3 separate regions of the Homo sapiens genome follow, and regions 1 and 3 are each linked to region 2. The links are contacts of gene promoters, found by promoter capture Hi-C in human tissues and cell types (Jung and others, 2019). All regions are on one chromosome and are shown on one strand. The core of a region is centred on a gene start or on the middle of the fragment in contact, and the rest is flanking DNA. Distances in the headings are between cores, read along the strand shown. Region 1 holds the start of PTGIR (prostaglandin I2 receptor). Region 2 holds the start of BBC3 (BCL2 binding component 3). Region 3 overlaps PLA2G4C (phospholipase A2 group IVC).

Region 1 (3,867 bases), core at 227-2,726, 610 kb after region 2:
GGAACTTGGGCGTCCATCCTGCTGGAAGCTGCGGGTGCCAGCTGGGCAAGGGTGATAGGGAGATGGGGGGGAGGGGCAAAGGGGTTGTGGTCACACACCGGGGTACAGAGGGCAAGACGGCAGCTGCCCACAGTCCAGTCCTTGGGTTGGACACATCCCTCCTGGCCTTGGACAAGAGACACCCGCACAGCCTCTCTCCTTGTTACAAAGACCAATCTGGGATGTGCTGCAGGCCGAGGCTGGCCACCAGGTCCCTGAGGCCCGTGTTACCCCACGCACAGAGAAGGAGGCTGAAGTCTACCAGCTCCCTCTCCTCACCTGGGACCATCTCGCAGCAAGAAAAAAGGTGGTCAGATGGAAACAGGAAGCCAAGTCGAATGGATCTGAGACCGTCCCCCTGAGAAACAGCGGGGCTCAGAGAGGGTCTCTGAGGTTTTATCTGGCCCTTTTGGGCTGGGAGGCTGCCTGGGAAGCCACCGACTCCGTGGGAAGGGAGACCCGTGAACGCTGTGCGGGTAGCGGGAACATGTGGGTCTGTCACACTGGCCCGAGGCTGCAGCGGTGGTGGCTTGGCTGTGTTTGGGGAGGGTGGGGGACACATGGCAGCAATGTTGGAGCTGTGGACAGCTTCCTGTGATCAAAATATGATTCCTGAAGGTCAAGGTCACCAGAGCTTGGCCTGGGGCCTAGGGGTGCTGTGCGAGAAGTCGGACGGTGGCCCAGTGCTACCTTTCCATCATGGGCCATGGAAGTCTCCCAAGCCTGTCCCTGACAACTGGACACCAAATACACCCCTTCATGCTTTCTTCTCGGGTCTCTGCAGGGTGAGCTGGGTGCCCAGGGACAGGCTCGAGGGACTGGCATGTCTCTCTCTGGCCAAGCCTCCTTCCTCAGCTTTCTGGAAGGAGTGAATTGTGTCCAGGGACCAGAACTCTCAGTGGTGTCTGGAAAACACTACATCAGAGAGGAATTTCCTGGTCATTTCTCAATCCCTGGGCAATGTCCTCAGCCCCGGGGCCTGGAGCCCAGAATAGATCCCAGAGGCCACCCTGAGACAGCCCAGGCCAAGACCACCCCACTGAAGCCTGGTCAACTGTGCTCTTCAGGTCCCTCCTAGAGGCCCCCTACTACCCCGGGAGGCTCCAAGCCTAAGTGATGGTGACTCAGGAATTCCCCACCCAGGCCAGAGAGGGAGACACTGGGGGAGGGAGGAGACCTGTGTGTGGGGAGGTGGCAGGTGGCTCAGTGATGGGAACCAAGAGAGGATGTGGGGAGGAGAGTGGAGGCAGCGATGGGAGATGGATGTCCTGGATTGGGCGGGTGGACGGGGAGTGGGGAGTGTGCCAGGGGGCCCTCTGGAGAACAGTGAGGGAGGGCGGGGCAGAGAGAGGAAATGAAAAAGCTGGGGTGAGCAGGCAAGCTGAGGAGGGTGGGAAGGAGGGAGGGACGGAGGGAGGAGGGAAGGAGAAGCTGACACACAGACCGACACAGGCAGCGAGAGACACGAGGAGCAAAGCAAGTGAAGGCACAGACGCACGGGACAGGAGAGCCTGGGCAAGACTGGAGAGGTGCGGTGAGGGGCTGGGGATGCAGCAACACAGAGCAGGAGCAGGTAGAGGGTGTGGGGTTAGAGGGAGAAAGGTACGGGGAGGACAAGGACAAGGGAGGGGACAGAGACAGGGAGATATCAGCAAGAGACCGAGAGACAGGGAGGGAAAGAACTGGCAATGCCCGGATGTTCTCTGTCTCTTTAATGGCAGAAACAGAGCTAGAGAAGGAAAGAAACAGGAGGTGGTGGGGGGGTGGTGGGTGTCAGGCATGGTGGCTCACACCTGTAATCTCAGCACTTTGGGAAGCCAAGGTGGATGGATCACCTGAGGTCAGGAGTTCGAGACCAGCCTGACCAACATGGTGGAACCCCGTCTCTACTGAAAATACAAAAATTAGCTGGGCGTGGTAGTGGACGCCTGTAATCTCATCTACTCCAGAGGCTGGGGCAGGAGAATCGCTTGAACCCAGGAGGTGGAGGTTGCAGTGAGCCGAGATCATGCCATTGCTCTCCATCCTGGACAACAGAGTGAGACTCTGTCTCAAAAGAAACGAAAGAAAAGAAAGAGAGAAAGAGAAACAGGAAGGTGGGGAGAGACAGAGAGAGATACTGGAGAAGCCAGAGGGGAGAGGACTGCATACCCGCACACACAGGAGAACTGGGGGTTGGCTGGGAGGCCCCAGCTGCCAAAAGGACTGGCCAGCAGGGACATCTGAGTGGGCTGGGTGGTGGGGGTAGCCCTGGCTCCCTCTGACCCCCCACCTTGGGAACCCTCCAGCCCAGACCTGGGATGGCGGATTCGTGCAGGAACCTCACCTACGTGCGGGGCTCGGTGGGGCCGGCCACCAGCACCCTGATGTTCGTGGCCGGTGTGGTGGGCAACGGGCTGGCCCTGGGCATCCTGAGCGCACGGCGACCGGCGCGCCCCTCGGCCTTCGCGGTGCTGGTGACCGGACTGGCGGCCACCGACCTGCTGGGCACCAGCTTCCTGAGCCCGGCCGTGTTCGTGGCCTATGCGCGCAACAGCTCCCTGCTGGGCCTGGCCCGAGGCGGCCCCGCCCTGTGCGATGCCTTCGCCTTCGCCATGACCTTCTTCGGCCTGGCGTCCATGCTCATCCTCTTTGCCATGGCCGTGGAGCGCTGCCTGGCGCTGAGCCACCCCTACCTCTACGCGCAGCTGGACGGGCCCCGCTGCGCCCGCCTGGCGCTGCCAGCCATCTACGCCTTCTGCGTCCTCTTCTGCGCGCTGCCCCTGCTGGGCCTGGGCCAACACCAGCAGTACTGCCCCGGCAGCTGGTGCTTCCTCCGCATGCGCTGGGCCCAGCCGGGCGGCGCCGCCTTCTCGCTGGCCTACGCCGGCCTGGTGGCCCTGCTGGTGGCTGCCATCTTCCTCTGCAACGGCTCGGTCACCCTCAGCCTCTGCCGCATGTACCGCCAGCAGAAGCGCCACCAGGGCTCTCTGGGTCCACGGCCGCGCACCGGAGAGGACGAGGTGGACCACCTGATCCTGCTGGCCCTCATGACAGTGGTCATGGCCGTGTGCTCCCTGCCTCTCACGGTGAGTCCCCTCCGGAGCTGGGAGGAGTGGGGAGAGGAGGAGGGCAGCTCTGTGGGTTGTGCCCATGTCACAGATGGGGAGACTGAGGCTCAAAAGAGGTGAGACATCGTGGGCATGGTGGCTCACGCCTGTAATCCCAGCATGTAGAAAGGCCGAGGCAGGACCGGATGCGGTGGCTCACACCTGTAATCCCAGCACTTTGGGAGGCCGAGGCCGGCGGATCATTTGAGGTCAGGAGTTCGAGACCAGTCTGGCCAACATGATGAAACCCTGTCTCTACTAAAAATACAACAAATAAATAAATAAAAAGTAGCCGGACGTAGTGGCACATGCCTGAAGTCCCAGCTACTTGGGAGGCTGAGCCAGGAGAATCGCTTGAACCCCGGAGGCGGAGGTTGCAGTGAGCTGAGATCGTGCCACTGCACTATAGCCTGGGTGACAGAGTGAGACCCCGTCCCAAAAAAAAAAAAAAAAAAATAAGAAAAAAAAGAAAAAGAAAGGCGAGGCAGGACGATCACTTGAGCCCAGAGGTTTGAGACCAGCCTGGGCAACATGGTGAAACCCCATCTCTATGAAACATTTAAAAATTAGCCTGGCATGATGGCCTGTGCCTGTGGTCTCAGCTACTTGTGAGGCTGAGGTGGGAGGATTGCTCCGGCCTGGGAGGTTGAGGCTGCAGTGAGCTGTGATTATACCACTGCATCCCAGCCTAGCTGACAGAGCAAGACCTTGTCTCAAAACAAAAACAAAGAAAACAAAA
Region 2 (4,105 bases), core at 762-3,261:
CCAGCTACTAGGGAGGCTGAGGCAGAAGACTTGCTTGAACCCAGGAGGCGGAGGTGGCAATGAGCCGAGATCATGCCACTGAACTCCAGCCTGGGCGACAGCGCGAGACTCTGTCTCAAAAAAAAAAAAAAAAGTAAGATCCATGTAAGTGATGTCATATGTCATAATCCATGGTTTACTCATGACCCACAGTTTGGAAAACACCAGGAAGAAGGAAGGGACAATGAATAATCGGGGAAAGCGAAAGAGGAGGGAAAGTGAAAGAGGGAGGAAAGCTGAGGAGTTCCCAATGTTGCAAATGGGGAGATTTCACGTGAGATATAGATTACCTGCATCTCTTGGGGGAGCTAAGAGTGTGTACTTGGAGGCAGTCAAGTTTGAGAAGTCTGACATCCTTACTCAGCCAGCCCCACACTAGGCACTGGAAGGTGAGTCACTCTGGTGAGGCGATTGCGATTGGGTGAGACCCAGTAAGGATGGAAAGTGTAGAGGAGACAGGAATCCACGGCTTTGGAAAAAGGAAGGACAAAACTCACCAAACCAGAGCAGGGCAGGAAGTAACAATGAGAAACTGAAAAAGAAACGGAATGGAAAGCTATGAGACAGGATGAAATTTGGCATGGGGTCTGCCCAGGCATGTCCATGCCAGGTGCCCAGGGCTGCTTCCACGACGTGGGTCCCCTGCCAGATTTGTGGTGAGTGTGGCCAGGTGTGCATGCTCCGACGTGTGTGCAGTGGGCCAGTTAGCAAGAAGCTGTCACAGGTGTGACTTTGTGACATGTGTGGGTGGTCAGTTTCTTCTATGTCTGATTTGGTTTGTGTCTCTGAATGTCAGTTTCTTTCCTTTATTTTTATTTTTAAGACGGAGTTTGCTCTTGTTGCCCAGGCTAGAGTGCAATGGCACTATCTCGGCTCACTGCAACCTCCGCCTCCCGGGTTCAAGCAGTTCTCCTGCCTCAGCCTCCCAAGTAGCTGGGATTACAGGCATGCGCCACAACGCCCGGCTAATTTTGTATTTTTAGTAGAGATGGGGTTTCATCATGTTGGTCAGGCTGGTCTCGAATTCCTGACCTCAGGCAGTCCACGCACCTTGGCCTCCCAAAGTGCTGGGATTACAGGCATGAGCCACCGTGTCGGGCGAATGTCACTTTCTGATAGTTTTAATGTGTTAGCTGTGAAATTGTGTGAGTGCATTTGTGTATGTCCCTGTGGGAGTGTGATTTGGATTTGGCCGTGTATCCAGGTATCCCTGTAACAGGTGTCTGTGTGTATGTGTGTGTCCCCTGTGCCTATCAGCAAGTTTGTGTTTCCTGATAAGCACTCCGCCTATGTCTGTGTGGTTGCACCACCGTGTGTGTGGTGTGGGTGCCTGTTCGGTAGGGTTGTTTGTGAACACAGTTTGTGGGCCCAGGTGTGATCATCAGTGTGGGTGTTTCTGCAACTGTGTGTGGCCCTGTCATTGTGTCCGTCTGCTTGTCCAGGGGACCCTGTTAGTGAGTCTGTGCATTTCCGTCTGGGTGTGTGTAAGTGTGAGCCCCATCAGTATGTGAGTGTGTGTGCTCATGCCCCTGTCCATGGTGTGGATTTGCGAGACTGTGGCCTTGTGTCTGTGAGTACATCCTCTGGGCTCTGCCTGCACGTGACTTTGTGGACCCTGGAACGCCCGTCGGTCGGTCTGTGTACGCATCGCTGGGGGTGTGGATCTGTGGGTCCCAGTCAGTGTGTGTGTCCGACTGTCCCGGTGTCTGGGCGATCTCCCCACACCCCGCCGCACAGCGCCTGGGTCCTCCTTGCCTTGGGCTAGGCCCTGCCCCGTCCCCCGCTGCAGGGAAACCCCCGGCGCGGAGGTAGGGGGGGGCGCGGCGCGCGCCTGCAAGTCCTGACTTGTCCGCGGCGGGCGGGCGGGGCCGTAGCGTCACGCGGGGGCGGGGCGTGGGACCCGCCGGGCGGGGGCGGGGCGGGGCGGGGCGGGGCGGCTTTGGAGCGGGCCCGGGATCCGCCGGGCGGCCTGAGACGCGGCGCGAGCCACATGCGAGCGGGCGCCTGGCGGCGGCGGCGGCGGCACCAGCGATCCCAGCAGCGGCCACGACGCGGACGCGCCTGCGGCCCGGGGAGCAGCAGCAGCCACAGCCACAGCAGCCGCCACTGCAGTTAGAGCGGCAGCAGCAGCGACAGCCACAGCAGCAGCCGCCGCGGAGAGCGGCGCTCGGCGGGCGCGCCCTCCTGAAGGAAGCCGCCCGCCCCCCACCGCCGCCCCCTCCGGCGTGTTCATGCCCCCGGGGTGAGTGTGCGCGCCCCGAATCCTCTCCGGCGGCGATCGGCCAGGCCGGGTGGACTCCCTGGAGGAGGTGACAGGAGTGCAGGCGGAGAGCAGTGTGGGCGCCCTGCCTCCCCACACCGCGCCTCTCCAAACCCCGCGAGGGACCCTGGGCCAGGGTCGCCGGGTGAGAGGCGGCTCGGCGTTGGGGCGCCGGTCTGGGCGCACAGGTGCCTCGGCGGTCTGGCGGGTTTGTTTACAAACAATGGGGTGCGGGCTCGGCAGCGCCCCCTGGCGGCCAGTGCGGCCCCGGGGAAGAGGGTCGACCCCAGGGGTGCCCCAGCCCCCAAAGTCCGGGAGGGGCGGGGGGGCGGCACGGAGGGGCGGCCACACCCAGGGCGCGCGCCCGCTGGGGGCGGCGACGGGGGGCGGCTCGCGGGCCGTGGAGTCTGCGGCTCCTGCGGGCGGGGGCTGCGCCCCAGCAACAGCCGGTTATTGGCCCCGCGCTCGCCTGGCGGGCGGGGCGGGCGCACGTGGCGGCGGTGGGGGGGGCTGTGACAGCGGAGGGGGGTGTCTGGGACCGCCGTGGGAGCGCGCGTGTGCGGGGTTGTGGATCTGCAGGTGTCTCGCCTGGGTGTGTGCGCGTGTCTGGCTCCGAGTTTGTGCTGGGTTCTGCAGGGAGTGGTGGTGTCGATCCAGAGGAATGTTGGGGTTTCTGACCCGTCGGGGTGTCTGCGTGAGTCCCCGCGCCTGTTTGTGTGGGGTTCTGTCTGTGGGTGCCCTGCTTGTGGGGTGGGTGGACCTGCGTGTGTTGTCGGTGAGAGTTGTCTGTGTGTGCTGTTCCGGGATGATACTGGGGGTCTGTGGTGCCTGCGTGTGCTGGGGTGTGGAGGTTGTAGTGTGTGTGTGTTGCTGGAGTGAGCTGTTTGTGTGTTTATGTGTGTGTCTTGCCCGAGCGTGCGATATGTGTGCTTGTGTCTTGCCTGTGTGTTTCTGTCTTGGCTGAGGCCGTCTCTGTATCTCCGGGGCATGTGTCTTTTGCCCAGCGTTTGTGATGCTGCGCCTGCTAAATGCAAATGTCTGTTTTCTGTCCAGGTGTCTGTGTGAGTTGTCAGGTGTGAGTGTGTGTGTGTATGTATGTGTGTGGTGGGGGGTTGTTTCAGTCTGGGTTTGGCTTGTGTGTCTGGCATCAGCGTCTGGGATTTGAGGACCCAGGATCTGTGGGGTCTATGCAGTGTAGACGGTGGGTGTTGCTGGCAGCCTCTGGATGGGGTTGTGTCTGAGCCTGTGTGTGTGTGTGTGTGTTGGGTCTGAGGGGCTTGTCACTGTGATCGGCTGGCTCATGTGTGTCATGTGGGCTGCGTGTGTGTAGTGTTTATGTCAGTCACGTGAGACCAGTGTTTTCTGTGGGTGCGCTAGGTGTGTGTGCTGCTGGGCTGTGTGGGATTAGAGTTAGCTGTAGGGTGTGTGTGTGTGTGTGTTGCTGACAGTTGGTGATGATGTTTGAGGGTTGCGTGAGGAGGGTGGGTTGGTGTCTGGTGGTGTGTTGAGGTCTGATGGCATGTGTCTGTGTGTGCCTGATCTACGTGTGTCCTGAGAGTTGGTGACATGTGGGTGTGTTTTGGGGGTGTTGATGTATGTGTGTCCGTGGGTGTCTGTTTTGTGTTGATATGTGAGTCCAGAGGTGTGCAGGTCTTATCTCTGGAGTGAGTGTGTGTGTGTGGAGAGGGGCATGTTTGGGAACTGAGGCAGTGCCTAGCTTGTGTGTGTGTGTTTGTGTTTGCAAAGGCTGCATTGTGTTTGCATGTGCCCCTGGGCATATCAACAGTGGGTCAGTGTGTGAGACTT
Region 3 (4,132 bases), core at 1,304-3,803, 870 kb before region 2:
CCAGAACTTTGGGAGGCTGAGGCAGGAAGATCGCTTGAGTCTAGGAGTTTGAGACCCAGGCGGGGCAACATAGCAAGACCCCATCTCTACAAAAAGTGAAAAAATTAGCCAGGCGTGGTGGTGCATGCCTATGGTCCCAGCTACTCAGGAAGTTGAGGCAGGAGGATTGCTTTAGCCTGGGAGGCTGAGGCTGCATTGAGCTACAATCACACCACTGCACACCAGCCTGGGTGACAGAGAGACCCTGTCTCAAAAAAAAAATTTTTTTTTTCTAAAAAAGAAAATTCCAAGGGTTTTAGGAACTCTGCACCAGGAAGCAGGGGAAAACACCAAGTATCTTTCTTTGCTACACAAAGCCATGGACAAAGCATAATAATACTACCTTCTGACATTAAAGGAGGATTTACATGTTCAGGTGCACTTTTCACACTGCAGGTGGATAGAATACAGCCCTTTTAACTTATCAGCCTCTATGATAAAGTATTGCATTAATCCGTGTAGGACTGTCTCATTCAGGAGGCCCCAGATGGCAGGTATGAAACACTCATGTCTGCATGTTTGTTGCCAAGCCCAGGGCAGACATGACTAATCGATCTTGGCACATTTTCAGAGCAGGAGGTAAGGCTAGGCAGAGCAGCAGAGGCTCGAGTGTGAGATAGGCAGGGCAGAGGCATGAATGTTGAGCCTGGCTGGCCTGATTTGTTTTCATTTCTGTGCTCAAAGTTTGATCTGGAGCTGGGTTCTGAGCTGGATGTGGAGGATGAGGTTCCTGGAGGCGACAGCATGAAGAGCAGAGCTGCAGAGCTTGGGAGTGGGAAAGGTCCTGCAGAGTCACACCGGACCCCTCTATTCCTCCAAGGCTCATCTAACATGTTGAGTGACATGGCGTGGGGGTTTAGCTGTACTGCACATTGCAGAACTCCAGGGGGCGCTATTGAGATAGGAACCCCATGATTTCTTCTGGAATCTTTCCGAGACTGCTGTGGTTAAAAAGGCAGGCCTGGCTGGACACAGGGACTCACACCTGTAATCCCAGTACTTTGGGAGGTCGAGGTGGGAGGATCTCTTGAGCCCAGGAGTTCAAGACCAGCCTGGGCAACATAGCAAGACCCCATCTCTACAAACAACAACAACGAAAGCCTTATATTTCAACAGCTTTGGGTTAGTTCCTGGAGCTGTCCTTTGTGGGCTGTTACGAGCCCAGACATACTTCTTTGTGCCTTGGTTTCCTCCGCTGTTGAGCATTGTAAGTGTGGACGATGAAGACTGGGAAAGGATGTGTGTGAGGAGGTCCTTCACAGGAACGCCTGCCTCATGGAGAGGGCGACACACAGAGGAAATGGAAAATTTACATGAAATAAATATAACTGCAGAACGGTCAAGTTCAAAGGAGCACTCAAAATCATCTGGGACAGTCCTTCCATTTCACAGGCAGGAAAATGAGAGCACGATGGGAGAAAGGCCTCATCAGAGTCAAATGTTTTTTGCAGCCAGCATTTATTAAAGGTTTACATGTGACAGCAACAAACTGTGCTGATCTCACAGGGCTGTTTGAGAATTAAATGATGAAACACATGCAAATCGTCCCAACCTGAGCTATCAAGTAGAGCTATGTAACATGAGCCACATCTATTCTATCATTTTAAATTTTCTTTCTTTCTTTTCTTTTCTTTTTTTCTTCTGGAGACACAGTCTTGCTCTTGTCGCCCAGGCTGGAGTGCAGTGGCGCGATCTTGGCTCATTGCAACCTCTACTTCCCAGGTTCAAGTGATTCTCCTGCCTCAGCCTCCCAGTTAGCTGGGATTACAGACGCGTGCCACCATGCCCAGCTAATTTTTGTATTTTTAGTAGAGACGGAGTTTCCCCGTGTTGGCCAGGCTGGTCTCAAACTTCTGACCTCAGGTGATCTGCCTGCCCTGGCTTCCCAAAGTGCTGGAATTACAGGTGTAAGCCACCATGTCCGGCCCATTTTAAATTTTCTAGTAGCCTCTTCAAGAAGGTAAAAAGAAACAGTGAAATGATCCATTTTCTTTAACCCAATATATCCAAAACATTAGCATTTTGACACATCGTTAAGAAAAAAATTGTTAATGAGATATTTGACATTCCTTTTGTCAGACTAGGTCTTTGAAAGCTGCTGGGCGTTTTATACTGAGCGCATTCCAAGTTGGATGCAGAAGTCTCATTAGATGTTAAAGGAGGCCCGGGGCAGTGGCTCACACCTGTAATCCCAGCACTTCAAGAGGCCGAGGCAGGTGGATCACCTGAGGTCAGGAGTTTGAGACCAGCCTGGCCAACACGGTGAAACCCTGTCTCTACTAAAAATACAAAAATTAGCTGGGTGTGGTGGCACGCACCTGTAATCCCAGCTACTTGGGAGGCTGAGGAAGGAGAATCACTTGAATCCGGGAGGCAGAGGTTGCAGTGAGCCGAGCTCGAACCACTGTACTTCAGCCTGGGTGACAAGAGTGAAACTCCATCTCAAAAAAAAAAAAAAAAAGATATTAAAGGAAAGAACTTTTCATACCCAGCTTGTTCCAAACATACTTCAGAGTTTCCCAATAACTGAATGGAGTACCAGTGTTTAAATTTAAGCTAATTAAAATGAAATAAATATTTTAAATCATGCTAGCCACACTTCAGGGGCTCAAGAGCTATGATGTATGTTTAATACATTGGATGGTGTGAGGGTAGATAGCACCCGATAAGCAGCATTAAGAACATCAAAAATTTTTATTGAGCCCGGGCACGGTGGCTCACACCTATAATCCCAGCATTTTGGGAAGCTGAGGTGGGAGGATTGCTTCAGGCCACAAGTTTGAGACCAGCGTGGGCAACATAGTGAGACTCCATCTCTACAGAAAATAAATTTAAAAATGAGCAGGGCATGGTGATGCACCTGGTGGGTAGTGGTCCCAGCTACTTGGGAGGCTGAGGTGGGAGGATCATTTGAGCCTGGGGGTTTGAGACTGCAGTGAGCCAAGATCATGCCACTGCACTCTAGTCTGGGCAACAGAGCAAGACCTGTCTCAAAAAAAAAAAAAAAAATATATATATATATATATATATAGACTCTATGTGACACACCAGCTCCCTTGCCTTCTGCCATGAGTAGAAGCTTTTTGCACCATGCTTCTTGTACAGCCTGCAGAACTGTGAGCTAAATAAACCTCTTTTCTTTATAAATTAATATATATAATATATATTTATTGAGTGAACAAATGAATATAAAGTCTTTTTTTTCTTTTTTTTTTTCTTTTTGAGATAGAGTCTTGCTCTGTTGCCCAGGCTGGAGTGCAGTGGCGCGATCTCGGCTCACTGCAAGCTCAGCCTCCCGGGTTCACGCCATTCTCCTGCCTCAGCCTCTCGAGTAGCTAGGACTATAGTAGCTGGGTCTGCAACCACACCCAGCTAATTTTTTGTATTTTTAGTAGAGACGGGGTTTCACCATGTTAGCCAGGATGGTCTCGATCTCCTGACCTCGTGATCCGCACACCTTGGCCTCCCAAAGTGCTAGGATCACAGGCGTAAGCCACCACGCCCAGCTTTTTTTTTTTTTTTTTTTTTTTTTAGATGGAGTCACGCTCTGTCGCCCAGGCTGGAGTGCAGTGGCACAATCTCAGCTCACTGCAACCTCCACCTCCCGGGTTCAAGCGATTCCTCTGCTTCAGCCTCCTGAGCAGCTGGGACCACAGGCGTGTGCCACCATGCCTGGCTAATTTTTGTGTTTTTAGTAGAGACAGGGTTTCCTGAGTATCCGGCACTAGAGGTACCCACCACCACGCATGCCACCACGCCTGGCTAATTTTTCTGTATTTTTAGTGGAGACGGGGTTTCACCATGTTGGCCAGGCTGGTCTCGAACTCCTGACCTCAGGCAATCCTCCCGCCTCGTCCTCCCAAAGTGCTGGGATTACATGCATGAACCACCACACCTGGCCCCGTTCATTGATTTTCTAGGATTATGTGAGTTAATAGGTATAAAAGACTAAAGACAGTTTGTTGCTGTCACATATAAACCTTTTAATAAGTGCTGGCTGCAAAAAACATTTGACTCTGATGAGGCCTTTCTCCCATCGTGCTCTCATTTTCCTGCCTGTGAAATGGAAGGATTGTCCCAGATGATTTTGAGT

Evidence for each region. The method cuts DNA at HindIII sites, captures the fragments that hold promoters and counts their contacts. A contact is called where the count stands out against the background at its distance.
Region 1: the fragment with the promoter of PTGIR here is called in contact with the fragment with the promoter of BBC3 in region 2 in 1 of the 25 tissues and cell types used here (adrenal gland).
Region 3: a contact is called between a fragment that was not itself captured here and the fragment with the promoter of BBC3 in region 2, in 1 of the 25 tissues and cell types used here (aorta).

Annotation. Positions count from the first base shown.
Region 1 is chr19:46,622,698-46,626,564 of GRCh38, reverse strand. PTGIR (prostaglandin I2 receptor) reads left to right here and starts at 1,476. Exons shown (of 3, transcript NM_000960.4): 1 at 1,476-1,568; 2 at 2,328-3,107. The coding sequence starts at 2,340. RefSeq lists an enhancer at 761-1,261. The HindIII fragment of the contact is 28,599 bases long and covers 1-3,867 here.
Region 2 is chr19:47,229,105-47,233,209 of GRCh38, reverse strand. BBC3 (BCL2 binding component 3) reads left to right here and starts at 2,011. Exons shown (of 4, transcript NM_014417.5): 1 at 2,011-2,281. RefSeq lists enhancers at 475-744, 171-794, 1,504-1,623 and silencers at 1,764-1,993, 2,134-2,853. The HindIII fragment of the contact is 48,720 bases long and covers 1-4,105 here.
Region 3 is chr19:48,100,043-48,104,174 of GRCh38, reverse strand. All of the region lies in intron 4 of PLA2G4C (phospholipase A2 group IVC), which reads left to right. Among named protein-coding and RNA genes, the nearest start is that of PLA2G4C, 8.7 kb to the left of the region's middle. The HindIII fragment of the contact is 8,459 bases long and covers 1-4,132 here.